4 separate regions of the Homo sapiens genome follow, and all the other regions are linked to region 1. Evidence: promoter capture Hi-C in 16 types of primary human blood cells and fetal thymus (Javierre and others, 2016). All regions are on one chromosome and are shown on one strand. The core of a region is centred on a gene start or on the middle of the fragment in contact, and the rest is flanking DNA. Distances in the headings are between cores, read along the strand shown.

The links. Contacts are between HindIII fragments. The CHiCAGO score rates a contact against its expected background, and 5 or more counts as called.
Region 2: a fragment that was not itself captured here is called in contact with the fragment with the promoter of GAD1 in region 1 in 2 of 17 cell types (total B cells and naive B cells); the score reaches 11.2 in total B cells.
Region 3: a fragment that was not itself captured here is called in contact with the fragment with the promoter of GAD1 in region 1 in 2 of 17 cell types (total B cells and naive B cells); the score reaches 8.8 in total B cells.
Region 4: a fragment that was not itself captured here is called in contact with the fragment with the promoter of GAD1 in region 1 in 2 of 17 cell types (naive B cells and total B cells); the score reaches 34.4 in naive B cells.

The regions. Positions count from the first base shown.
Region 1 is chr2:170,813,175-170,820,229 of GRCh38, reverse strand. GAD1 (glutamate decarboxylase 1) reads right to left here and starts at 3,343. Exons shown (of 17, transcript NM_000817.3): 1 at 3,182-3,343; 2 at 1,557-1,701. The coding sequence starts at 1,638. GAD1-AS1 (GAD1 antisense RNA 1) reads left to right here and starts at 1,579. Exons shown (of 4, transcript NR_197761.1): 1 at 1,579-1,844; 2 at 2,315-2,512; 3 at 3,198-3,376; 4 at 3,745-5,607. RefSeq lists enhancers at 906-1,428, 1,429-1,952, 3,192-3,361 and a silencer at 3,449-3,528. The HindIII fragment of the contact is 11,655 bases long and covers 859-7,055 here.
Region 2 is chr2:172,109,927-172,116,315 of GRCh38, reverse strand. It overlaps DLX2-DT (DLX2 divergent transcript), which reads right to left. Exons shown (of 5, transcript NR_126376.1): 5 at 6,334-6,389. Among named protein-coding and RNA genes, the nearest start is that of DLX2-DT, 10 kb to the right of the region's middle. The HindIII fragment of the contact is 7,472 bases long and covers 472-6,389 here.
Region 3 is chr2:172,067,335-172,074,242 of GRCh38, reverse strand. It overlaps METAP1D (methionyl aminopeptidase type 1D, mitochondrial), which reads right to left. Exons shown (of 10, transcript NM_199227.3): 6 at 3,173-3,336. Among named protein-coding and RNA genes, the nearest start is that of DLX1, 15 kb to the left of the region's middle. RefSeq lists an enhancer at 722-2,452. The HindIII fragment of the contact is 1,811 bases long and covers 2,206-4,016 here.
Region 4 is chr2:172,085,400-172,092,438 of GRCh38, reverse strand. DLX1 (distal-less homeobox 1) reads right to left here and starts at 6,932. Exons shown (of 3, transcript NM_178120.5): 1 at 6,449-6,932; 2 at 5,586-5,785; 3 at 2,765-4,436. The coding sequence starts at 6,761. The coding sequence ends at 4,182. RefSeq lists enhancers at 115-1,288, 3,610-4,221, 4,835-5,446, 6,061-6,672, 6,704-6,823 and 1 more. The HindIII fragment of the contact is 2,704 bases long and covers 310-3,013 here.

The DNA.
Region 1 (7,055 bases), core at 2,094-4,593:
AGGGCGCCGGGAGTGGAGGGCAAATTAACACAACTGCCCGCTAACCCCCCACCCCCACCCCCAGGCGGCAAAAGGGAGCGGGAAATGTGGAAAGCGTCAGAAAAGAAATCCATCAAGGCGAAAGCACCACACAAAGGCGCGCAGGCCTCGCGTTCCTCCCGCCCTGCCCTGGCCAGCTCCAACGCCGGTGCCTGGTTCATATGCTACCAGGGCTGGCGACTCTCCCGAGGCCCTCTTTGTTGTGTGGGTAATTGTATCCCTCCTGGGTGGCGGGAAGAGGGAGCTGCAAAGGAAATTGGAATGAGACCTGAGGACTTAACACGAGACCTCCTGCCCGGGAGCCAATGCCAGCGTCTAAAGGGGCTTTCCGGTAATAATCCCCACTTCATTGATGAGGATACTTATTTTCTCAAATATAAAGTGCCATAAAAGCGCATCAATAAGCACTCCCTGTAACCACACTATCCTTCTTAAGCCCTTTCTGTATACAAATTCTGGAAATTCATACAATTAATTACATCTCAGAAATAAATAAATGGGGGAGTGGGAACACTTACAGTCTGAAGCTGATAAGTTTTTTTAGGGGGGTGGGGTCAGGAGACACTTCTTCACTCCAACAAGGAAAAAGAAAAACAATTTTCTCATCTCAAGCCTTTACAGAGGTAGGAAATAAAATTAAAGATAGATTCTGGAAATGGGTTGAGGAGCCTGTCGCACTTAAGACAGGGAAGCATAAATCCTCCCCCCTCTTTTATCTGGTGTCTCTTTTCTTTCTCTCTTTTCGGGACATGTCACCTCCTGACAGATCTCTTGCCTGGGATAAGGAGAGAGGTGCTCTCTCCTCTCTATGATAAAGCTTCTTGCCCCCTCCCAGTTCCCCATCTCTTGCCACTCAGGATGCCGCCCGCTCCCCTATTTATTTATTTATTTATTTATTTCTCTGAGATGTAATTAATTGTATGAAATGTCAAGGCTCAGTCTCAGTTTTATGCACCTTTCCCGCCCCTGACTTCTCCCTAACTCGTCAATAGCTTGATGCAAATTTGGAGCAATTAGGGACCTTGAGTTTTCTAAAAGCTGCAATTAACGTCGAAATTTCCGCTGATTATAGACTTTGAACACAGCCCAGGGGGAAAGGAGGAGGTCAGATCTTGGCTCAACGAAAGCCGGGGACTGAAAACTCTTATTCCTGCTGGGGCTCCTAGCTCTTCATTCCGCCCCCTGCGCTGACCCCTGTCGTCCCACGGAGCAAAGAAACCACACACAACAGAATAAAAACAACACCCTGGCTGCGCGCCCCTCCTCCTCCGCGAAGCCCTCAACGATCGCCGCTGCTCGGACCTTGCGTGGTCCTCGCTTTCCGGTGCCCTGGGAGTCACCTAGCGTCCCTGACAGCCGAATGACCTCTGGCAGGGACGGGGTCAGAGCCCCATTTATTTCCCAGCCTCCATTATCTCCGCGCTCCCCCTTCCCTTTCCGCCAGCTCAGCCTCCCGACGTCCCAGCGCCCCCATCTTCCCTGCAGTTCATTTGATAGAAAATTGGGGCGGGACCTACTTGTGGGGCGCAGGTTAGTGGTATTGGGGTCCGCTCCCGCGTTCGAGGAGGTTGCGGACGAAGATGGGGTCGAAGACGCCATCAGCTCGGTCGTCCCGGGGCCTCTACTGTCCAGAGTCCTCGACTGGTCCGGCGCAGAAACAGGCTGCAAAGAGAAGCGAGAGCTGTGCGGGGAGGACTTCCGGGGTCCTGCACACCGGAGGGACTGAGCAGCCGGGGGCACGGAGGCTCCCCTTGAAGATCCGGCTCTGGAGAGACAAGAGGGAGGAAAGGCAGCGAGCCTGCCTGGTAGGGGTGCGCAGGGGTGGGGGCAGCGGAGGAGACGTGCGCGCTAGCTCCGGTACTGGGGCGCAGGGAGCGTAGCCCTGGGCCGCTCTCGAGTCTGGCGGTGCATCGGCGCGACCTGGAGTGAAGCGCCGAGACGAGGCGGGGTCGGGGTCGGGGTGGGGGTCCAAGGCCAGTACAAGACGCAAGGGTGTGGGGGACTAGGCTAGGAGCACAGGGGAGCGCTCAGTGAGCGATTTTCCAGCCGAGCCGCTACAAGCCCCATTGGGCACTCAGCAGCCGGCGTGTGGGCCAGCGGGGGGAGGGCGCACGGGGCGGGCATGTCTGGTTCGGTGTCTGGTTCCCGTTGTTGTGTCTGGCTAATTCCCTGGAAAGAAAGAGGCTAACTGCTCCGGGGACTAGGGACTTTGGTGAGACAAGGTGAGAGGGGGAAAAAGGCCCATATCTTTACGTTCTCCCTCGGACTTGGCCAGAGAAGAACCACAGTCACCTTGCACTCCAGACAGCCAGAAAGCAGCGAGTCGGAATGTTGCTTGCCTCCCTCTTATCCCAGCCGGTTTTTAGCCATCGCTAAGCCTAGGGCGAGGTTTCGGTCCGGTTTCAGCGTTTCTCCTCTACCTAGCCCCCTGAGGACCCCAGATTTCTCGCGGTACAGATCCAGAGAGGGTGGGGTAAGTAAGCATGGGGAACGTCACCGGGGAAACGAACTTGCGCGCAGCGCGCAGGAGGCGGCGGACAAAGATCTTGCGCGGCGCCCCTGCTCGACTCTCGGCGCTGGCGCGATGGCGCCCGAAGGCCCCGGGACAGAGAGATTGCGGGCTAATCTGGGTAGATCGAGGACCCCACAGAGAAGGGCCCACCGGCCATCGCCTCCACACCCTCCCTCCGACCTCACTCCTAGCCCCGCGCGCGCAGTCGCACAGCAACTCGGGCAGCGGGTCGACTACGGCCCCTGGAAAAGTAACAGGTTACCGTTCCTAGTAGCGCCTTCGGCTGCTGCTGCCCAGGCGCCCTTTGGAGGGACAGGCGCTCGCAGCATGGAAGCTCAAGGGAAAATCGCTCTTGCCCCACTTCAACTAGAGCCTCAGCCTCCGTGCTTCCCCGGGGCGTGAATCCGGAGGGCAGGGATAAGAAGAGTGACGAGGGAGGCGGGGGGGGGGGGGTCCCTGCGCAGCGCACCCGTGGAGAGCAGGGACTAGGGCGGGCAGGAAGCACTCATTTCGGGAGGTTGGGTGGCCGGCGCTGGGATGGGGTTGGTTGAGAAGCCGCGGGAGGAGAGGACCTGGCTGAAAAGCCACGGTTGGGCGCTGGGAAGTCCAGGTGGTCGCTAGCTTACCCACCTCGGCTCTGCGACAGCGAGCCGGGCACTCCCGCCTTTCCTCTGCACAGCGCCCAGCGATCCGCTCGGCTCGGCCCTGACAGGCGTAATCTGCCCGGCGTCACCTCCAGCTGCTTCCTCGTTCTCGCTAGTTCCCTCTCGCACGCGAGCGCCAGGAGAAGAGAGAGATTCGGAGAGGCGGCTGCACGGCTCCGGGGTAGGCGGGGGCAGAGTGGGGAGGCGGGGACCGGATCGGCGGGGAAATCACGAGGCCGTTGCTCGCGGGGGCAGCTAGTCGGCGGAGCGGCGGGGCTCCTCTGCAGGTGCCTGACCGCCTCTGGAGCTTTATAGGGCGATTATAAATCCAGCTCACGGTTTTGCGCCCGGAAGGAAAAAAAAAAGGTCTTATGAGTAATCCAGAACGTACTCAACACGCTTTTTTTTTTTCCTTTGGAAATAGGCAGGCTGTCGGGTGAGAGGAGGGAAAAGATAATTCCTACGAAGAATTCTGCCTTTCTGAGCGTTTCTTCTTCCCTCCCCTCCTTTCCCCTCTCCCATTTCCCCTCCCCCTCCCATATATTGTAGGAGACGAGCGGCGGTTTTGCCTCAGTGCTTTTCCCCGGGGTTCCCCCAGATCTGTGACCCTGCGACGCTTCCTTGAGCGAAAGCGCGCTTTGGGTCGTGTCCTCGTTGGCTCTCTACGGAGCTGGGATTGTTGTAACCGCAAAGGAGGCAGAAATGAGGGGAGACCTCTTAGACCATGGAGGAATTACAGTTTCCTCATCCAGCCCTGGGCCCCATCAAAGTACCACACCTGGCCACAGCTACCCAGTGCCACCGGCAGAGAAAAGGACCCCGCGTCCCTTTTGCTATGCGCTCGCTCCTCGCTTTGGCCCCCTTGGTGATGGGAAAAGAAGGCCTCCTGATTAATCACGTTTGAAGGTTGATGACACGCACGAGCGCCGCTGCACGCGCATGGGGCACCCGAGCACAGAGGTGCCCGGAAGGGGCGGACCAGCCCCCCTTGCCCTGGCCCGCTCCCCCTTCGATTTCACGCGCTTTAAGGATTCTCCCTTTGCAATATTTAGGCGTAGTTAAAAGAACCGCTGCGTTGGGAGAAGCCCCTCGCCGTAAAAATGCGTTGAAAGAGAAATTCCCACCAGAGGGCGCCAAGAGCCCAGAGACGGAGAGGCCCTGCGCTCCCGGGTCTCTCCGCCAGCGCCCGAGCGGAGCCCACACCTGGAGCTGCTGGCCAGACGGTTACGCGCCGGCTTGCCTCTTCATGCCTTCCCTCACCGCCCTGTCACTAGTTTAAGTTCTCCCCTTTCTTCTCCCCCAGTTTTTTTCTTTAGGGCAAAAATGTTGATGTCTGTGCGTGTCTGGGTGACACCGTGTAGGCAGTGATTCCTTTACTGGTATTTACCGTGGTCCTCCCCCTCTCCCCAGGTGGTGCAGCACGCAGGGGTTATTTATGCGCACGTCTGGGGCCTCACTGGTTCAGCGGAGGCCCGTCCGTTTTCTTTGAATGCCTTATCGCCTTTCACCACAACACAATGGAAACACACACAAAAATATTATAAATTACCGAGAGTTCCATAAGGGAGATCGAAGGGTCCGCCCTGGGCAGACATGGCCTGATCAGCAAGAGGGATCTCGCTGTGGGGTTTGAAATAATCGCGTTGCCTTTGGTACTAAAGAAACTACTGTTTTGTCGCCTTGTCTCCACCTGACGATGAAATCCCCGGCACTTTTTAAGGACACAAAAAACATCCTAAACGGCGGGGCGCGCGGTGACTGCAGCCCCGGGCACTGAGGCTTGGGGCTGGACAGGCTGGGGGTGTCTGCTCCACGTAGGAAACGTCCCCCCAAACCACTCAACCGGCAGCTGCTCTGCGCTGCTTGAAGTGGGCGGCATACAACCAGGTGAAGCTCGGAATTCCATCCACCGGCCCTCCTAGAGCCTTCCCTAAACGAGACGCTCGCACCAATCAGGGAGCCAGGTGCCAGTGCTAAATCATTCAAGACGCACGGGGCAGGAGACAGGAAGGAGGAGGCAACACATCTCCCGGTGCCCCTCGTTCTTCATTGTCCAGCATAGACGCCCGCTCGCCTCAACCTTTTCCCAAAACCCGTGATTCCCTGGAAAGGAAGATTCGTTTACTTCACCTGTGGCACGAGATTGAGACATTTCCAACCACTTCCTCCTTTGACCCCAGAGTTCAAAACACCCCTAACGTTTTAGCCAATGAAATAATCTCGTTGGAGAAGGAATCTCCTGCAAGGCTAGGTAACGCAAGCTGAAGCTGAGTCCGTCCAGCTTCGAGGACATCCCTCTCTTTCTCCTTTATGGTGAGTAGGGGAGGAATGAAGACTTTTGTCCGTCCTTGTTTAGAATGTTTAATTGAATATTAGCAGTAATTGATTAAACGAATATTTATTAATCCCCTACTATGTGCCAAGCACTTATTTTTTGGAGCTTGCATTGTCCCTGCGGTTTATATTATCCTGCACGCCGGGAGTGGACATTCCGGTGAGGCAGGGAGAGGAGCGCACTTAGAAACTTCATAAATTTGATTTAATTTTCAATGATCTCCTCCAACTCGAACTCTTGGGCACAGCAGGAATGGTAATGAATTGAAGGCCTGGAATTCCACTCCATCCAGATTACTGAGTTTTGAGGTAGGGCATAGATCTTTCAGCACGAAGGACAGCGCCCGTCCTTCTGGTCCCCATGCCTCTGTTTCGTTTGCTTCCGCCAATAGCTATGGGCCAACCCACCAGACTCGCCCCAGCCCTCCTCCCTCCTGACAGTAACTGCTGTTTGTTTTGCCTAGTTGGGGGGTGAGGTATTTCGCCCACTGCTCTTCTCTCCGGTAGGAATTTGAACTAAGAGTGGCCGTGGTTGTCATTCGGCTCTAAACAACATTTGAAACCTATATTTTTGTTTATGTCTTTCACTCTTCCTTTAATCTTTTATCATTCCTGGGGGAGGATTCTTGGGATAATGGGGGTGGAAAAAAGATATCCTCTCCGGGGACTCGAACCGGTGATGAGGGGTGGCCCGGAAGGGAGTGGTGTCCGCCCAGCTGTTTCGATTGTATTTGAAGCGCTTTGAAGAAATGGGAACGCGGCGCTCAAAGGCAGAAGAAGGAGGGGGCGATATGCGACCCCTCCAGTCTCTCTCCGGCATTAGGGATTTGCGAGCTTGCAGCCCCGGCTACTCCACCCTGTCTGCCGAGGATAACGTTTCCTTAGGTCAACCACCGCTGGGACTTGGGAACACGACCCTCCGCCCACAATGCCCTTTATTCCTTTCCCCGTCGTGGGTGGGTGGGGGATTGTTTAAAGATATTCCAACCGGATTTGGGGCCAAGCCTTTTCTGCAAAGGGAAAAACGGGTGAGTAGGAGGAGCGTGAGGCGTTGAAGGAGCGCCCAAACGGGCTGCGGGGAGATCTTCACGCCTAAAACGTGGTCAGTCAAGGTGAGTAGACAGGACACGTCAATTTTTTTTGACGCAATTAGAATTTTTAGCCTCCAGGAAACGTAATTTAGAGCCATGGTATTGGTTCGTTTCAGCTGGCTCCTTAAAATCTATTTTAAGTGTCTAATTTATGACCAGAAAGGAAAAAAAAAATGGCAGTGCTCACCGGTTAAACGTCTGTCTCCCGAGACGAGAACTGGGGGAAGCGTTACTTAACCTTTCATTCTGCTTAAGTCGGAGCTAAGGTCCATTTGCTGTTTTTGTACTTTAAAGATAGTTCCCTGAATTATTCTGGACTTTTTTGAAGGATCATAGCTAAATCCACACCCCCATCCCAACAGACCACACAACACTCACAGCTGGGAGGCAGGAAAATGTTAAAAGGGTGAGAGGGGGTGGGAGGGGTGACAGCAG
Region 2 (6,389 bases), core at 2,958-5,457, 1.3 Mb before region 1:
CTGACAGCCAACCAACTGCCAGCCATGAGAGTGAGGCCATTCCAAACAAGCCAGCGTCCAATTCAGTCAGCCCTCCACAGACACATGAGCGAGCTTAGACATACAAACAATAAGAAATGCTTATTGTTTCAAGCTACTGAGTTTTGGGGTAACTTGTGACACAGAAGTAGCTAACTGATAGAGATACCTCAAACTCAGCATTAAAGCTAAACCTATATCCCAGAGAAATGAAGACTTGTGTTGACACAAAACATATACACAAGTGTTTATAGCAGCTTTATTCAGAACAATCAAAATCTGGAAAAATCTAGATGTCTTTCAATGGGCAAATGGTTAAACAAACTGTGGGATATAATATCATGGAATACTACTCAACAATAAAAAAGAATAAATTATTGTTACATACAACAATCTGGACAAATCTCCAGAAAATCACGTTCTCTGAGAAAAAAAAAGCCAATCTCAAAAGCTTTCATACTATATGATTCCATTGATGTAACATTATTGAAATGATAAATTATAGGAATAGAGAATAGATTAGTCAATATCCTTGTTATAGGCCAAGCACGGTGGCACATTTCTGCAGTCCCAGCTACTGGGGAGGCTGAGTCAAGGGGATCACTTGAGCCCGGGAATTGTGGCCCAACCTGGGCAAGATAGCAAGACTCTATCTCCTTTAAAAAAAAAAACAAAAAGTTGTTGATTTGCTCTATAACTTCACACTATCACTGGGGGAACTGTGGAAAGGGTACAAAGGATCACTCTTTATCATCTCTTACAACTGCATGTGAATCTATGATTATCTCAAAATTAAAAGTTTAATTTTAATTTTTTTTTTTGAGACGGAGTCTCGCTCTGTTGCCCAGGCTAGAGGGCAGTGGCACGATCTCAGCTTACCACAACCTCTGCCTCCCAGGTTCAAGCTATTCTCCTGCCTCAGCCTCCCAAGTAGCTGGGACTACAGGCGTGCCCCACCATGCCCAGCTAATTTTTCTATTTTTAGTAGAGACAGGGTTTTACTATGTTGGCTTGTCTCGAACTCCTGACCTCATGATCCACCCGGCTCCACCTCCCAAAGTGCTGGGATTGCAGGTGTGAGCCACCGCGACTGGCCAAATTTTTCTAAACTTTTGAATTTTCCATTGTTCTTGGGCCAAAAATCTATTAGGTCCTACACGATATATTTCCTGCCTACCTTGCCAGCCCCACCGTACATACTCTCCTCATCCACTGTGGTCTGGCCCAGCTCACCTTCTTCCAGGTTTTCAAATGTCCCTTTCAGACTCAGAACTTTGCACATACTATTTCTTCTTTCTATAATGCCTTTCTCTCAACTATTTACCTAGCTAACTCTCATTTACCCTTTAAGTCTTTTATATGTCATTTTTTCACTTCAGTCACTCACTATGTGATGGGGTTATTTCATACAATAAATACATGGTTCATACCAACAGAGTTTACAGTATTCGGCCATCTGGGTCCAGGTTACTTTTGATGTTTATTTCCCTTTTGTTATCCCAAGACTTAAGTAAAACCTTGTTTAAACATCTCAGGATTCCAGCAGCTATTCTTTGGATTATGACAGAGTATCAAAAGTATAATAGAGATAAGAGTGAAATCCTTTACTGAGTTCAACCAGGGAAGGTAATTGCATAGTAAGAAATGCCCAGCCTGGCACGGTGGCTCACGCCTGTATTCCCAGCACTTTGGGAGGCTGAAGTGGGAGGATCACCTGAGGTCAGGAGTTCTAGACCAGCCTGGCCAACACGGAGAAACCCTGTCTCTACTAAAAATACAAAAACTAGCCAGGCATGGTGGTGCTCTCCTGTAATCCCAGCTACTCAGGGGGCTGAGGCAGGAGAATTGCTTGAAACTGGGAGGCAGAGGTTGCAGTCAGTCATCCAAAATCACACCACCGCACTCTAGCCTGGGCAACAGAGCAAGACCCCATCTCAAAAAAACAAAAAAAAAAGAAAGAAAAGAAAAAAGAAATGTCCAAGGCCAGGTGCGGTGGCTCACGCCTGTAATCCGAGCACTTTGGGAAGCCAAGGTGGGCAGATCACTTGAGATCAGGAGTTCAAGGCCAGCCTGGCCAACATGGCGAAACCCCATCTGTACTAAAAATAAAAAATTTAGCCAGGTGTGGTGGTGCAGGACTATAGTCCCAGCTACTCTACTGGGGAGGCTGAGGTAGGAGAATCACTTGAACCTGGGAGATGGAGTTTGCAATGAGCTGAGATCACGCCACTGCACTCCAGCCTGGGCGACAGAGCAAGACTCTGTCTCAAAAAAAGAAAAAAAAAGGAAAAAAGAAAAAAAGAAATGCCCAAGATGAAACTACAAGGATACAACAGTCAGAGCTGTAAAGTCTAGCTGCCCCTTCCCCCACAGGCTGTCACACACACAGCACTTTTCGTATACTAATATGTGCAATTTGTTAGCTTTACTATGAATTGGGTCGATGTAGATGAAGACCCTAAATGACCACTGGGTGTCATCACTGTCTTACACAAGACTTGGTGTGGCTCCTTAGTATTCAATCTTTTCTGGAATGTGGTGATAAATTGTGCTCAGTTCTAAATGAAACCAAAGCATATCATCAATTCAGAACTTAGCTATGTAGTAACACCAGCAAGGAGTACACAACTGAGGACTGGGAAATAGGCAAAAACAATGTCTTGAAATGGCCCAAAATGACATCCCAAAGTTCATTCACTTAAGTTTGCGTACTTTCCTCAAATGAAAGCCATTTGGGCCCTTTTAGTGGGAAGTTTCCTTTTTTTTTTAATTTTCTTTTTCCTATTTGAAGTTATTTCATTATTAGCACCTCTTCTCTTTGTGCTGCCTTTGCCTTGTTCATTCCATTATCCTAGGCACTGTCGTCCAAAAAAGACTAAAGTAGTAAGTTGGCTTATCACCCCATGACAACTCCTAAGCATAATAAGCATGTGCCCAAGGCAAGAGTGACACTGACATGGAGGGGAGGGTCCCATGTGGCACAGTGACAAAATTTCTGCAATCCATCACCTTTAAAAGGAAACGCATATGATTTGGGCTTAGAAGTGAAAGAACCCCACTAATGATCATTAAAGACTTATGTTCCTAAGGATAACAACCAGCTATGCTAACCTCTTTCTATTCATGGACTGAATGCACCTAGGAATCAAATGGTTTCAGGTCTGTGCTTGGCTTCCCATTCATCTGGTTTTCACAGATAAAGGATGTTCTGGACTTTTTCCTGTAATTTTTTCCTAACAAAGTCATTGCATCCTAACTTCAAGGTCATGGTATTAGCTATAGTAGATAAGCTGCCATATATATATGTTTGTGTATAGATATATATATGTGTGTGTACATATATATATGTGTGTATATATATGTGTGTGTGTATATATATAATCCCAAAAGTCAGTATCTTAAAATGTAAGTTTATTTCTTGGTCAGATAACCTTCCAAACAAGTGATGAAGATTCCCCTAGGCGGTGAGTCCCCTAGGGCCTCTAGGAGACTCTAGGGCCATGTCATCTTCATAGTTGAAGCTGGTTCCAGACAGCGGAAGGAAAAAGAGAGCAGAGAGGAGTCTCAACTCTGCCTAAAAGGTCCTGTCCTGGGAGAGGCACACATGGCTTCCACTTATGTTCCATTCTCTTGGATTGAATGACATGGTTACACATAAGTGCAAAGGGGGCTAGGGAGTAGTTTAGCTGCATTCCCCAAAAATCAGATTTGAGAGACAACACTTGGTCCATTCCACAACTATCCTTCAGTAGTCTAAGTGAAGTTTTGTTCAATTAAACATTAAACAGAGGCACAGAAAAGTTAAATAACTTTCCCTAATTTACACAGTTAGCAAGTAGCCAAGTTAGGATTTAAGCCCAGAGCCCATACTTTTAACCACTGTATATATTAACTCTAAAAGTATTAACATCTAAAAGTATTGGCATCTATAGGCCGGGCGCGGTGGCTCACGCCTGTAATCCCAGCACTTTGGGAGGCCGAGGCGGGCAGATCACGAGGTCAGGAGATTGAGACCATCCTGGCTAACATGGTAAAACCCTGTCTCTACTAAAAATACAAAAAATTAGCCGGGTGTGATGGCGGGCACGTGTAGTCCCAGCTACTTGGGAGGCTGAGGCAGGAGAATGGCATGAACCCAGGAGGCGGAGGTTGCAGTGAACCGAGATCGCGCCACTGCACTCCAGCCTGGGTGACAGAGCGAGACTCCGTCTCAAAAAAAAAAAAAAGTATTGGCATCTATAATCATGACCTGAAGGCCCAGAAGCCATAAAAAAAAAAGAGTCACATATTTGACCATACAAAACTTAAAATCTCTGAACTAGAAAAGAGAATAAACAAAAGTAAAAGAGAAGCAATTAACTTGGAATTAATATTGACTATAAACACAATAATGAGTTAATCTCCAAAATATGTAATAATTTCCTGTAAATCAATTTTTTAAAAACAGAAAAATGGGCAGAGAACAAAAATAGGCAATTCACAGAAGAAAATAAAATGCCTATATAAAAACACAAGCCAAGCATGCGATGGCACATGCCTGTAGTCCCAACTACTCTGGAGGCTGAGGCAGGAGGATCACTTGAGCCCAGGAGTTCAAGATCAGCCTGGACAAAATATAGCAGAGCATCCCTCTCTAAAATAAAATAAAATAAAAAAGACACACACTCTACTAATGTAAAGCCTTTGCAAGTTAAAATATGGCACTATTTTAAGCCTATCATATTCAAAAAACACTGAAGATTCCTAATATTCTTGGTGAGAGTGCTCAGAAATGAGTATAGAGCTTAAATTGCTTGTTTTTTAAGGGGAGCTTAGTGGTAGCTATTAAAATGTTGACATACAATTCAGTTACTAGGATTCTAGTTTACAAATATAATTGAACATGTGGGCAAAGCTCTCCAGAAGACATTCACTCATGTGTTGTTTGTAAATATCGGAAATCATCTAGATGACAAGGCAAAGAAGATAGTCAAATAAATGATGATACCTTCCTCACACATTCACCTTAAGAAGAAAATGATTGCTCTGTAACGACTGACATAGAAAGAAAAGATTTCTTTTTTTTTTTTTTTTGAGACGGAGTCTCGCTGTCGCCCAGGCTGGAGTGCAGTGGCGCAATCTCGGCTCACTGCAGGCTCCGCCCCCTGGGGTTCACGCCATTCTCCTGCCTCAGCCTCCCGAGTAGCTGGGACTACAGGCGCCCGCCACCTCGCCCGGCTAATTTTTTGTATTTTTAGTAGAGACGGGGTTTCACCGTGTTAGCCAGGATGGTCTCGATCTCCTGACCTCGTGATCCGCCCGCCTCGGCCTCCCAAAGTGCTGGGATTACAGGCGTGAGCCACCGCGCCCGGCCAAGATTTCTAAAAAATAAAAATGCTAGCCAGTCGCAGTGGCTCACACCTATAATCCCAGCACTTTGGGAGGCCGAGGCGGGCGGATCACTTGAGGTCAGGAGTTGGAGACCAGCCTGGCCAACGTGGTGAAACCCTATCTCTACTAAAACTACAAAAATTAGCTGGGCATGGTGGCACGCGCCTGCAATTCCAGCTACTCGGGAGGCTGAGGCAGGGGAATCACTTGAACCTGGAAGGCAGAGGTCGCAGTGAGCCAAGATGCACCACTGCACTCCAGCCTGGGCAACAAGAGGGAAACTCCGTCTCAAAAGAAAATAAATAAATAAATAAATAAATAAATAAATAAAAGAAATAGAAATACAAATAAAAATGCTTACGTGTTTACACATTTGAAACATGCACAGGGTTTTATGCATTTGAAAACGCGTGCACAAGTACATGCAAACAATCTGACATGACTGCCTAGGGTCAGTTCCCTGTGAATAACCTGCAAGGTTCTTCCCTCTGCTCCCCTCTCCATTTTCAAAGAAGCGAGCAGAAGCAGCCCAGGTGTAGCACACAGGGAAACTACAGAGAGGCTTGTCAAGGCGGGACTTTGCCCCGCTTACTGAATGGGGCAGTCCTTGCCGCACGGGTTAGGAGCAGTATTTGGCCTTTCCAAACTTCAGTGCTGCAGGCGGGCCCTGCACTTCCCCATCCACAGTGCCTGACGGCTTCACAATGCCCCTGGACCACCCACTGCCGCCTCGGAGGCCCACGCCCAAATCCCCTGGCCTGGCCTGGTCCACTGGATCCCGGAAACAGCGTCTGCCTTCACCTTGGCTGCCGCCAGGACAAGGCCTGCTTAGACACGAGTGAGAAAAGTGGGCCTACACCCTCTCCGCCTGGGCCTCCCTCCGCGGTTTAAAACCCATTCCGCTGAGGCCCGAGAACGCCGAGTGTCGCGGTAAACCTGGCGGCGATGAACCTATAATGGTGTATTTCCAGGCAATAATCCCACAAGGAAGAGCTCAGTAT
Region 3 (6,908 bases), core at 1,862-4,361, 1.3 Mb before region 1:
TTTACAAGTTTAAATTATTTTTGATTGAACTGTCACATATTCATGATGCATGAATCTACACATTCACAATATACTCATATGTACAGATTGTATAATCTAGAGATAATTATAAAAATACAGATTTAGAAATATTTTAAAGCAAATGGAGATACAGTGAGTCTAGTAACACTATGACCTAAAGATTACTAGACATTCCTCACAAAAGCAAAAGGGCCCAGAGAGAACTCTTTCCATTAAAACATTTTAGCTGATACTTCCTCAAAGACATTATCTTCTTTAGGTTTCAGAGGAGAATTCCAAAATTTCCTGTAGAGATCTCAAGGTTTTTGATAACATGATACTAATACAAGTTGCTTGTTCTTTTCCTAGTGTATCAGTAGAGAGAGGCTACGCAAAAGATGGTGAATATCTTAAAATAAACAAGACCGAGTTGAAAGATGTTTGTAAACCTTTGGTCTGTAATGATTTCAAGTACTTTTGGCTTAAAGGTAAATATGGTTTGTTTACTTATTCCCCTAAGATTTTGCCAGAATAAGAAAAGGCAAGATAATAGGTGTCCAGAAACACTGCTTTAACACATCAGAACAAATATTTGTTAGAATCGGGGCCAGTTTCCTTTCTAGCGGCAGACATAAACCATCTAAATAATGAAATGTATTAGGGTACAAGTAAAAAGTTCATTGTCTGTTATTTTCCACATAGTTTTTTTAAGTGCAGTTGTTGGGACTGACTGATCTGGTTTTCAAAAAAGCTTGTACATGCAAATTCATACTCTGTGAAAACTGACCTTTGTATCCAGATAGCTAAAATCCAATGTCACTTTCAATTCTACTCTTCTTCTTCTTCTTCTTTTTTTTTTAATGTAGCTAGAATTAATGTAGTGAATATGTAATGAAATGCATTATCCTGCATGGAGATTTATCAAATTTTCCAACTGAATGCTATGCTTTGCTAGTACTAGCTGGAGTTCACCTGCATGTTGGTGTGGCGTGTGGCTCTTTTTTGTAAAGAGTTAAGTCGTACACAAAAAAAGGGAACAAAGGTCAGCACCCAGCCGCCACTTGAATGTGAGATTTTTCTTTTTATTCCCCTTGATGTATACTAGGCTCTGTGTTATTAGTCTTAATGATGGAAAATTGTAGTGTTGATACAAATCTTTTTTTCAAAGTAGTAGGCGGGAGCTCCATTTGTTAGTAAGTTTTTTTTGTGACTAAAAGCCATGGACAGTACATTTATGTAGCAGTAAAAGGCCTAGATGCTCTTTCCATAGCAGAGCTAATTATTCCTACTGTGACCTTACTGATCTAGCCTGTTCCTAGCACATCTCATCTGCACGCCTGTTCCTCTGTGTAGATGGTGTCAGAGAATATGAAAAACCCTATAATGAAACCATTTTCATGATGGAGAAAGGCTACTGGAGTTGCACTTGCTACAAAGAGGCTCAATTATATGAGTAATTGTGATAATTTTCTACATTCATAGCCTTCAATGGGGGAAAAAGAATGAGAGCCACAAAGGAAAATTACTTTAACAAGAAAGTACAGAGAGTAAAAATGGAAGAAGAGACAAAAAGGGGAAAAAATAACCAGAAAAAAAGTTTAAAAAATAGATCTGGAGGGAGGAATAGCGAGACAGGGAGAACAACAGAAATGCTCAAAAGCCCATGTGCAGCTGTGTTGCACAATTAAATTGAATTTTTTTTTCTGCAGTTGATGAATGTGACTACTGCAAATGTGCCTCTGTAGTTAGCTATCATTTGTTGTTCCGTGACAGGAAAAGGATAATTACCTCTCAGAGAGAATCAAAGGCTGACATGCCCTTTAGACACAGCCATGAATGCAGAGCTCGATAGAATGCTTGAATAAGAATCTAGTGTTCTCTGCCCCCTTCTACTGAAGAATAAATTTTGTTAAAATGCAAGAGCACCACCAGTAAATTTGTTGAACCCTAGGTGTTCAAAAATATGAGGTGCATCTATCGACTCATCCCATTTGCAAAAATAAAACTGCATTTTGAATTCATTTCTATTATATTCATGGACAGTAAGATAGTGAGATATGCATTAAATTTCTTTTCCCAGTAGGGGTCTGATTCAACATTTCCTATGAAAGAACAGAGAGACACTATCCTTTTTTCCCAGGCTAGTTAGCCTATAATTTAAAACTGTCAAAAACACAATTTTGTTCAAAGTCTTCAATAAAAGCTTCTCAGATATAACCCAAAGAGATTTTACTAAAGTTTGATTCAGACACTGTTACAATATTTTTAAAGCCATAAATACATTTAACTGATATTTTACTGGCTTTTTTCTTAAAGTATTTGAAGGCTTACGAAGAAAAAAAGGCAGCATCTTTTCAAGGTGACTAAGCCTTCCATCCTTTAGACAAATGGGAAGTATTCAATGGTTCATATTAATGAGAACAGTACTTTAAAGGGCACTGATGTGATCATCTTTAACAGAATGCATTACTTTAAAATGAAAACATATATTCGGCATGTCTACTTCAAAACAGTTATGGGGGAAAAAAGACCTAAAAGTAGGTAACAGATTATAAAGAAAAGTCTTAAATTCAGAAAACACACATACACATACATTCAAAAAGTAAGGATAGAATACTCTGTGAAAAATAAACAACGGTTTACAGGAAAAATGAACCAGACAAAAAAAGAACAGAAGATCACCGTTTCAGGCTATTTGTTAATCTACCAATTTGAAAGGTAAGGCTTGCTTGAACTAACACTTTATTATCTTCATATCACAGAAATACATTTCACTTCATTCCTTTATAAAATTTAGTTTTTCTCCTGTCTTATTAAAAACCCCAGGGTTGAGATGCTCATCCCCTTCTTAGGTACTCCCTTCCATATTTGGTGTGATTTTGAATAAAGGGAAACTATAGACCAGTATGTCAAGCTAAAACAAAAGCAGCCATGTAAATATTGCTTGCTCCTTCTATAAGTTTCTTTGCTGACCCTGGTATAATTCATTTTTATAAAATCTTTTTTTTTTTTCAACTCAGGGAACAATATTGCAGCCTGGCAGTTCACATACTGATATCAGACTGAAATGATGGTTCTGAATCATAAAACATGTCATCAACTTTATACCAAGCCACCAATAACCTTTGTACCATTTGCCAACCCTCCCTTTACTTGTCAATGTAAGGCTTACCTGATTGTGTTTCCAATTACAGAGAAGGGAGCCCCTGCTCTGCAAGCTGCAATTGCTTCATCTCTACACCTCCTGGCAACCTCCACTAACTTTTTACCACATTCGTCCACATTGCCCACCAAAAATGTTTCAGAGGTGTCTCCATGGTAGCCATTGTAATAGACCTAAACATAAGCAGAAATTTAAAAATATGTCCTTGTTTAAAAATCTACTTTCCTAAAGTATACATTGTATTCATTTATGTATTTAGTAGACTCATGTTTTACCCTTCCAGAATTATTCATTTGCCTATCAAAAAAAGAAGAAATAGATATATTGAAACCTTGCAGAAATTTAAAAGATGAAGCCATGCAATGATATTGCAAAATTTAAAAACAACTATGTTAACTAGTATGGTTATTTCAGCATTATGATGAACAATACTACTGTAATATTTTGATTCCTCACTTTATTTCTGAGAAGACAAAATTATATAAGCAAAAATTAGTAGCCAAAGACCTTGATCTACAATTACCACAACAGGTTTAGAGAACCAAAAAGTATTTAACATAGTGAAAAGTTTCTTCAATGTCATGAAGACTTACTTGATTTTGTATTTACCAGTTCTACATTTGAAGTGATATATAATGACAAGAAGAAGTAAGATAGACATGTCTGTATTCTAACAAACAAATAGGAGAATTCAGTTCTAAGAATTGAAGTGGTTCCATATAGGAATGAAATGTGTTACAGAAAAATCCTATGTCTAGAAGTGAAATCTTAATCAAATGTTCCAGACAGCCGAACGTTAACAGAAAGCACTATATATGGATATCTAAAGAATTAGAATATAATAAAACAAGCTTAAAAGCACAATTACAGAAAGTATAATTTTATCAGTCTTCAGTGATTCAGAAGCCAAGTAGGATCTTGAAAGATACCAGATTCATTATAAATCATTGATAACCAAGCACTATAGTAAATATAAAAGGCAGAGGCAACTGTTTGGATACTGATCCTTTGATGTAGCATGGAATTTGCTACTTTGCATAAATTTGTCCTATCTAATTATTTTTCACATTTCTCTTGCTCATAAGGTAGAATGTAGAAACTGTTATAAAAAAGATGTTTATATGAGCTTTCAGTCTGTTGTGATACTGAATTAATGTCTTAAATCTGTATACTACTCTGCATTTCTTAAAAAATGCTCTCATATTCTGTGAAGGAAGCAAGAAAGGTCTTTATTAGATCTTCAGTTTATAATTCAGGAAACTGAGGCACAGATAAGTAACTTGTTTAAGGTTGGTGGCAGAATATAGAGGTAGATTCAGGTTAATATGATGGATTATTGGCTTCTAATCGAGTGTTTTCTCTACTATATCAAATTATCTTAATTACCTTGCAACAGAATAGTGTTTTATACATTTACTCCCACTTACAGTCCTTTGCAATCCAGGAAAGTATGAGTTTTTATTTTATACACTTGGCAGTATTTCACTTTGCTTCATAGGTTTTACAATTTTGAAATAGTTTGAATGTTAATAATGAAACTATTAAAAGTCTTCAGGAAACTTAGAAAAGGAATAGAGTATTCTCTTTGGACACATTGGAAACAGTAGGGAAGACTATGCTGATTTCGTTCAAAAATTCAAATTTTTATATTCTTATATTTCATTCAAAATACAAGAATACTATTTCAAAATACAAAATACGATTTCATTCAAAATACAAGAATATAAAATTTGCTAATATAGGCGTAGTCAAGAAAATGTATAAATGAATGTTTATATAACTGCTTTTTAAGTAAAAATGTACTATTTTAAAAAATCTTTATTCATCTTTTCATATTACTTTTTCCTAGCTTTGAAAATGATTACTTGAGGCTGGGTGCAGTAGCTCACGCCTGCAATCCTTTGGGAGGCTGGGATGAGAGGATTGCGTGAGACCAGGAGTTTAAGACCAGCTTGGGAAACATAGTGAAACCCCATCTCTACAAAATTAAAAAATTAACCAGGTGTGGTGGCACACGCCTGTAGTTCTAGCTACTTGGGAGGCTACGGTAGAAGGATCACTTGAGCCCAGGAGTTCAAGCTTACAGTAAGCCATGATGGCACCACTGCACTGCATCCTGAGTGACAGAGCAAGACCCTATATCTGAAAAAGTAAAAAAAGAAAAGGAAACAAAGAAAAAGAAAAAGAAAGGAAGGGAGGAAGGGAGGGAGGAAGGGAGGAACGAAGGAAGGAAGGAAGGAAGGAAGGAATATCAAAATGACTATTTGAGACTGGTGCAGTGGCTCACACCCATAATTCCAGCACTTTGGGAGGCGGAGGTGGGCGGATCACTTGAGGTCAGGAGTTCAAGACCAGTCTGGCCAACATGGTAAACCCAGCCTCTACTTAAAATACAAAAATTAGCTGGGTGTGGTGGCGTGTGCCTGTAGTCTCAGTTACTGGGGAGGCTGAGGCAGGAGAATCACTTGAACCCTTAAGGCGGAGTTTGCAGTGAGCTGAGATCCTGCCATTGTGCTCCAGCCTGGGCAACAGAGGGAAACTCCGTCTGAAAAAAAAAAAGACTACTTAAAAGATTCACTATATACAGAAATACAATACTTTTGAAAGTCTGTGGCAGTCATCTACAATTTCTATTTATACCCATAAACTAGTACTTGTACTTCATTTATTTATTTATTTATTTTTTGAGACAGAGTCTCGCTCTGTCACCCAGGCTGGAGTGCAGGGGCGCGATCTCAGCTCACTGCAACCTCTGCCTCTCAGGTTCAAGCAATTCTCCCTGCCTCAGCCTCCTAAGTAGCTGGGATTAGAGGCTCCTGCCCCCACACAGGGCTAATTTTTATATTTTTAGTATTTTTAGTAGAGATGGGATTTCACCATGTTGGCCAGGCTGGTCTTGAACTCCTGACCTCAGGTGATCCGCCTGCCTTGGCCTCCCAAAGTGCTGGGATTTCAGGCATGAGCCACTGCGCCTGGCCCTTGTACTTCATTTAACAAATATTTATTGAGCAACTACTATGGACATCGCATTGTCTTTAAGAAAAACATTTTTCAGTTTTAAAGGGGGGAAGGAAATCTAATTTCTTGTGATGTATACTAGACGTCAATAATTCTAAGATGCAATGAGTATTTTCTGATAGAAACATAGGATCTGATAATGGAGTCCTTCACTTAATAAAATATTTTATAAGAAATATAATTTGTTAAGATATGGACCTATATGTTTCCTAGATTCCTTCACATTTCTAGACACTTGGAAATATTTCACTTTGCTTTATAAGTTTTGCAATTGTGAAGTAATTTGAATGTTAAATACAAAACTGTTTATTAAGTATTCAGGAAACTTAGAAAAGGAATAGAGTATTTTCTTTGGACACACTGGAAACAGTAGGGAAGAGTAGTTGATTTCATTCAAAACATTAAAATGGTAACATTTCATGATAGGGTGACTAGATGAGAAAATAGATGTAAAACCGTAAAATCAGGTACAATCCAAAATAAAAGTGTCTCATGAAAAGAACTCTGTTTTAGGTATACTTCATAAAATACCTCCTTCCACATGATTCTGAGTTGGAAAGATACCAACAGGATGTATGTGGTGCAAGTGTTCAAGCATTTTAAGTAGGATAAAATGATACAGGAAATAGCATCAGCAATGAAAGAATCGTTGGCTATCTCCTCATATGATTGATATGAAGAAAAAAGGTTTAGTTAACTTAAACTAAAAGTCAGACTGAATTCCACC
Region 4 (7,039 bases), core at 412-2,911, 1.3 Mb before region 1:
AAGCTGTGAACTATAAACGTTTCCAGTTTTATATTTTTAAATAGTGCCTCGATTTAAGATATGAGTTCTCCCACAATTAGATTACCACTCACAAGGCTACCCAGCCCCTCCAGGCTCCTGAAAGCCAAGACCAGTGAGGAGGGGGCTGGGGACTGTTGCTTCTCTCCCTACCCCTACCCCTTTTTAGAGCTAGTGTGGGTGAGAGAAGATATTAAAGGGATATCTGTTGTTTGGCAATTTTGCTAAGTCTGTCTTCATTACTTTGCTGCTGTGCATTTGCTAATTTGGAGGCCTGGCCATTGACAAGCTTGCTCCATACACCTGCAAGCAATTTGCCGGCTCCGGTACCAGAGAATTGCAGAGATGGCAGCTCGCACCTATTTGATTTTTTTTTTTCCTTTTCTCAATGCACAGCAAATTTGGCTTTCAGTGCGTTATCTCTTTTGTTAATGCAAAAAGATTCCCTGGGCGAAAAAATTGCTCATAATTACCAGAGAGATGGGGAAACTGCATTAGAATAAATAAACCTGAAATTACTGTAATTATGTTGTGTTTGATGGGCCCGGCTTGTAATCAAGAAGAGAATACAGTGAAATGATGCTGACCCTCTTGGGTTTGCAGCTGTACGCGCACTTTGGGGTCTTTTTTTGCAGAAAAGAGTCATTTTGATAATCATTAAGCTGTGTGTAACCTATTTCAGAAGTGTTTTAAAATGAGTTTCACATTTTTTGAACAAGGGAAAAAAATCCCAAAATTGCATTTTGCCATTACAGACTCATACATAAGGAAAGGTTGTGTTTTCTAAGTGACAATTGTTAAGACATAATATTCGAAATCAGTATTTAATCATTATAATGAGGTATTGTTTAAATATAACCACCTTTAGATTATTCATAGTTTAATTAATATACTCATTATGAAAATCTTTGAATCAGATATTTGATGAACTACTTGTCAGTAACAAGGCAGCATTAATTAGGCCTATATTGAGATTAACATTTTTAAAAAGTACAACCGCTTATAATTATAATAAAGCCTAACTAAAGACCGTTTTCGTTGAGCTAAAACTAATAATTTCTCTATTTGAACTGTTAGCAAGAGATTATTAAATTAGTATAAGCTAATATCTCAAAGTATTACAATCCGCTTGACCAAACAGATTTTGCCTGTAGCTTGAGGCATTGGGCCCTAGCTGCCGTCTGGGGGACCTGAGTCAGATGCCGGACAGAAATCTTCGCACTAGCAAAGTCACATCTCCTAGGGGAAATTGAACCTAGGAAGACCCCCTACCCCGCGCGGGAGCTGGGAAATTCATTCTTTCCTCAGCTTTGAGGCCCATCTGACTGCCCACATCCTGGTTTCTGAGGTCTGATCTCTCCCATCAGCGCTGGTTCTTCTAGGTGCTGCGGAGAAGTCCCAATCTCAGGCCTGGAAGGGGCTTGGAGGTCCCCGGCATCATTCCCCCACCCCCGACTACTTTCCCTGCTTCCATCACACCGCCTCCCCCCACCCCCAGCAGCCCCACCACTTCCTCCTCCCCTTCCCAAAGGGCGTCGGAAGAGCCTGGCGCATCTGATCTTTCACCAGCACCAATTGAAAAATGGGTGCTTGTCACAACACAGATCACTGCCTTCCGGGCTCTGCTCCCCACCGCGCGCCTGAAAAGACCCCCCAAAGGTGGAGGGCCAGCTCCCGCGGGCAGCAGCGCTGGAAGGCGAGTGCGGGAGAAGTAGGAACAGCGCTTGGCAGCCTGTCTGGGCCCGCAGCTCTCCGGGACTGCCTCGGCTCGGCTGCGAGATCTGGGGTGGGGGTTGGGGCTGGGCTGGGACGCAGGGCCACGAGAAGGGAACCAATCTGGTTCTAGTCCCTTGAAGCCCGTGTTCCTCTGGAGGAAACTAATCTGAGCAAGCGCTTCACTAGAGGTGCTCCCATAAGGGCCTGGCCTTGGGACTTTCGGACTGGGATGAGGTGGGAGTGGTGTGCTTGACTTTGGTCAGATTTTGGGGTTCCAAAGTGTCAGCCACCCTTTCCTTAGCACCTCCATTTCTGTGAGGTGCAGAGAAAGGCCCCGGATCATTAGGCAGGAACCTGCCTTTCTCACTGTGGAGCTCCCAGGGTGGCTGCCTGGGACTGTGCCCTGTCCCCTGGAGCGCACTGATTGATAGAGGGGCAGTCTGACAGACGTGTCTTTCCGGGCCCCTGCTTGGCGTCTGGCTGCGTCTTTTCCGCGACGGAATCCAGCGCCTCCGGGCATGCAAAAGCAGGGAGGCCTGATCCGGAGGAAGGCTAGAGGCAAAGCAGTGTCTCTGCTTTCAGGCCTCTCAGCCTCCCAACCTCCCGGCCTCTCAAGAGCTGGCTGGGTGTGGGAAAAACTGAAATCGTCCTGGCCGGCTGACTTTGAACTCTGACTTCATCTCCTCTCAGCCGGTCTTCAACATCCTTTTGGTTCCTGAGCGTCAGCCCTGCCCTGATGCACCTGTTCCTGAGCCCCCTTCCTGGGGAACCCTCGCCAGGCATTCTCTCCTTACCCTTCCAATTCAGGTAGGAATCAGACACCTTGGGGGTCAATGGAGCAAGGCAGGAAGAAAAAGCCCAATGGGGCACCTCACAGGCCTCTGACGATACCCTGGTGTTTCTGGGGTACAGGGTCTCCATTCTATCACCGATAAGTTGATAAGTCGCTGACCCTGTATGAACTGTCTCCAGAGGCGGGAACCTGGCCTGGCCCCCTGGCACAGCCTCACACAGCACAAGAGAGCAGTTCTTTCAAGAAATCATAATTTTACTGTCTCAAAGAAACTTTATAACTTATTTACAAAGTTTTTTTCCCAAGATACAAAGCAATAAGTTAACATTCTCAATATAAAACTAAACTTTGACATAGAGAACACAAAACACAGTTGATTTCAATTGATCACATTTTCCAAATTTCACAAGAAAAATGTCAAGATTCTCATTTCACAAAGCATGGGGTTTTACAGCCACACACAACAGAACGCAAAAAGGCTAAGCTTGTGCAACATGTTTACAGAACAACAATAATAACAATAATAATAATAACAATAATATGTACAGTCATTAGATCCTGCACTGGAGATTGTGCGTTCAGGGTGGTGACTGGCATTATTCTGTGGTCGAGCCTCTAGGGATTGTTGTAAAGCTGATTTTGTCTTATTTTAAAGCCCACTGGAATTAGAGTGCTTGTTCTCGCCTGTTTTCTCTCTACTCCCCATTTGCCCTCGCTCCCTCTTTCTACCCAAGGAGGAAATCAGCATTTTCCTTCTTGTCCAGGCGAAGCAACAGAGTTCCTCCCGAAATGAGAAAATCATGTTGGCTTCATTTATCGTTCTTTTCTTTTAAAAATTATTTATTAAATAATGTCGGACATGTAAAAAATGCAAATCATTCGGCTCCAAACTCTCCATACCAGAGAAGTACAAAAGTTACTGTATAAATTAAAAATCACCACGTCCTCCTTATTCGTTTCTCCCCGTGCGCTTAAAGTAAACAGTGCGTTTGAACAGTGCGTTCCTTGCGCCCAGCAGAACCCTGAATTGGCAAACAGCCTCAGGCGAAGTCCATTTCTCAATAAATAAAACCCCCTCCCTCCAATGCCCCCAGATTCCCACACCAGCTACACAGATGGTCAGGCAGAGTGTCCCAGGATCCGGAGATGGTCAGCCCGGCAGGACCCGGGCCGCTCAGACCTTGTGGCTTTTTGCTGAGGCCGCAGAATGAGGACAGCGGACGGATGAGGACCTGGACTTTACCAGCGCACAGACAGAGCAAAAGGAGACAGGAGACTGACAGGACAGAAAAGAGCTTTTGCTTTTTCTACATTTTGTTTTTGTTTTGTTTTTTCCTGATAGTCCCACAAAGCTGAAGGTCGGCGGGTCGGGTGGAGCGGGTTTATCTTGCTGCTTGGGCTGTCTCAGGTGGCAGTGGCTTCCCTCCGAGGCCACTCTCTGCTGCCACTGCTCGGCCCAGGCCAGGGTTCAGGCTAGAGCGCGGATGCCGGGAAGTTGCTGGGCCGGACCTCGCGGGGCTCCGAGGAGATGGAGGGCGTCCCGCCTCCACTGTTCCTTCTTCCCTCTGGGTCCTTCTTTTCCGGACGGGATGGATGGACCTGGAGGCGGGAGGGACCTGGGCCGGGGAGACAAGAAGGAGACGGGCGGGCAACCTCACATAAGTTGGGGTTGCTGCATAGCTTCTTGGTGCGCTGAAGGGTACCACGATGTGTAGCTGGGGATATAGGAGCCCGCGTTTCCTCCTGAGCCCTTCCCGGATGAAGAGTTAGGGTTCCAGCCGGGCGGCACGGGTGGGGAGCCAGCAGACAGGGCCCGACCGTTGGCCAACGCACTACCCTCCAGAGCCGCCCCACCCTGCTTCATCAGCTTCTTGAACTTGGATCGCTTGTTTTGGAACCAGATCTTGACCTGCAAGAGCGGACAACAACGTGACTCAGGCTGGGACCACTGAGCCTACCTAGGTCACAGGGAGGAAAAAAGGGACCGCAGAACAGCAGAGATAGGACCTCCCAACCCTGCGCCAGCTGGCAGCTCCCTGCCAGAGAAGCAGAGACATCCCTCCTTCCTCCCTTCCCCCATAAGAGCCAAAGGCTCGAAGGCCGAACCTCCCGCCGCCGTCAGCCCACGGGGGCAGCTCTCAGAGAGCCAGGGAGGAGTTGTGATGAGGGGAGAACCGGGATCCAGGCCTTAGCCTGCCAGGGGCTCAGTCCGACCGTGGCTACCGCCTGCGGAAGATACAGCGCCTGCATAACACCGAGCCAGCAATTCCAATATCAACATCAATAAAAAGAATCGAAAACCTAGGAAGGAGTGGAGGAAATTTATTTGCAACGCGACCCAACTTTTCTATGCGCCATCTTTTCTGCCCTTGAGTTGGGACGGACTAAGGAGGCCTCAAGGTTTTGCTGAACTTCTCTTTGGATTCAAAACCATTCTTGCACTAGTGTCTGTTTGCTTTCTCCAGCTCTGCTCCAAATCCCGGACCGGACGTCGGAAACCCGCGCCCGCCGCCGTCAGGAACGCTCACGGGCTCCCCGGAGTCTTACAGAAAGCCGGGAAGGAAGGTCCCGTTTCTTCTCTAAGGTCTGGGACTTGAGAGGTGAGAGGGCGGAGGAAAGGATCTCCCCCCACCCCCAACCGGTAAGAAGGAGGAGGAGGAGGGAGGCTGAGGCGCGGACCCAGGCCCCGAGTGATTAGTCACACAATTTAAAGGCAAAGGAGGGATTAAGCCCGGAGTCTATTGTTCCAGTTGTTTAGGCACGTGTGACCTCTGAGTTCCCAAACAAATCGTCTGGGGAAATCCTTCCTGCGCCCTAATCAGATTGTCCAGGGACAGAGGGCCGGACGGCAGGCAGCTCGGGATACCGAGAGCAGTGACAGAGCTAGGGCAGAGGGAATGAGGGAGGAAGGAGACACGCTGAGAGCCAGGGGTGGACACAAACACATACACACAGTGACACCCCGACCCTGAGTCCCAGCGAGCAACAAATGAAGACCCGGGCGCAGGCCGGCCGCGGAAAGCCTGCGTGGCAGAACGGAGCGGCAGCGGCGAGGTACCTGAGTCTGTGTGAGTCCCAAAGAGGCCGCGAGCTCCGCCCTCTCCGGCAGAGCTAGGTACTGAGTTTGCTGGAACCTCCGGTTCAAAGCCTGCAACTGCAAACTGGAATAAATCGTCCTGGGTTTACGGATCTTTTTTCCCTTGCCATTGAAGCGCACTTCACCGCCTTCCACCACCGTGCTCTTCTCCGAGTCCGCCCCTGGAGGGACAGCAGAAGTAGGGCCCGTTGTTAATACGAGGGGCCGCCTTTAGTGCGAACAGCCGAGAGCGAGTGGCTACCGAAGGGTGGCGGAGGCAGCACCAGGGAGAGAACGTTCAAGAAACTCTGAAAGCCAGGGAAGGGTCCCCCAAAATCCGAGGGCCTGTCCCGGGACGCTGCAGGAGGGATAGAGCCGTTCCCAGGAGCTCAGCTCCTGCCTTTGCAGGGAAAGTTTGCTATTTTTGCAGGCGGTAGTTGAGGTTTAATTACCCTTAATTGCATACATTGTTTATAGCGCTACGCAATAAATAATTACCGAGACTAATACGTGCACATGTGGGTTTCTGTTTTCCAGCGGGGCATTGTGTGCTCTGCACACCGAGCCGCCCAGAGGCCCAGCCAGTGCCAGGAGACGCTCTGGGATTTATCCTTGGCTGGATAGTTGCAAATTGAGGGAATTTTTAAAAAAATTTATTTGCTGTGACAAGGATCTATAGATTGATATTCGAAACCTCCACTGCTCCCGCGCCCTCCCCACCCCCACCCCACCTCGCTCTCCTCTCTTCTCTTTCTCTCTCTCTCCCTCTCCTCTTCTCCCCCGCTCCTTCTTTCCCTCTCTCCCTTGTACCTCCTCCTCTCCCTCTCCCTGGCAAGCGCACGTACCTGGGTCCTCCAGGCGGCTCTGGGCGAGGCTGGCGCTGCCCGGGTAGGACTGCACCGAACTGATGTAGGGGCTGGATGCGTGGCTGCTGACCGAGTTGACGTAGGGGTAGCCCAGCGGTCGGGAGAAGGACGAGGCTGAGCTGTAGGCGCCGTCGGGCTGCGAATGGCCCGCCGAGTGTAAACAGTGCATGGAGTAGTGCCCGTGGGACATGGGAGAAGGAGACATTTGCTGGTTGGGCGGCCCAAACTCCATAAACACCGCCTTGCCCGACACGGGGCTGTTGAGACTTTCTGGCATGGTGGTCATGGTCATCTCTTCTCGCGGGGTCTGGGTGTGGGACTTTCTCTCCTCTGCTTCCCTTTTGGGGGTCTCTATGTTTCTCAGGACAGGAAGGAACCCAATTTAAGCGGAACAGGGGTTTTCACTTTCCATTCATAAGAAAATGGAGTTTGTCTCTTTGAAAAGTCTAAGCATGATGCTGCTGAGCTCCCCAAACTCGGTTCAAAGCTTTGACTCAGCGAAGGTCATAAATATTCATGAGCTGGCGGAGCTGATTGGTCCGCTGTCTTGCATAATCACTGGGGATTGGT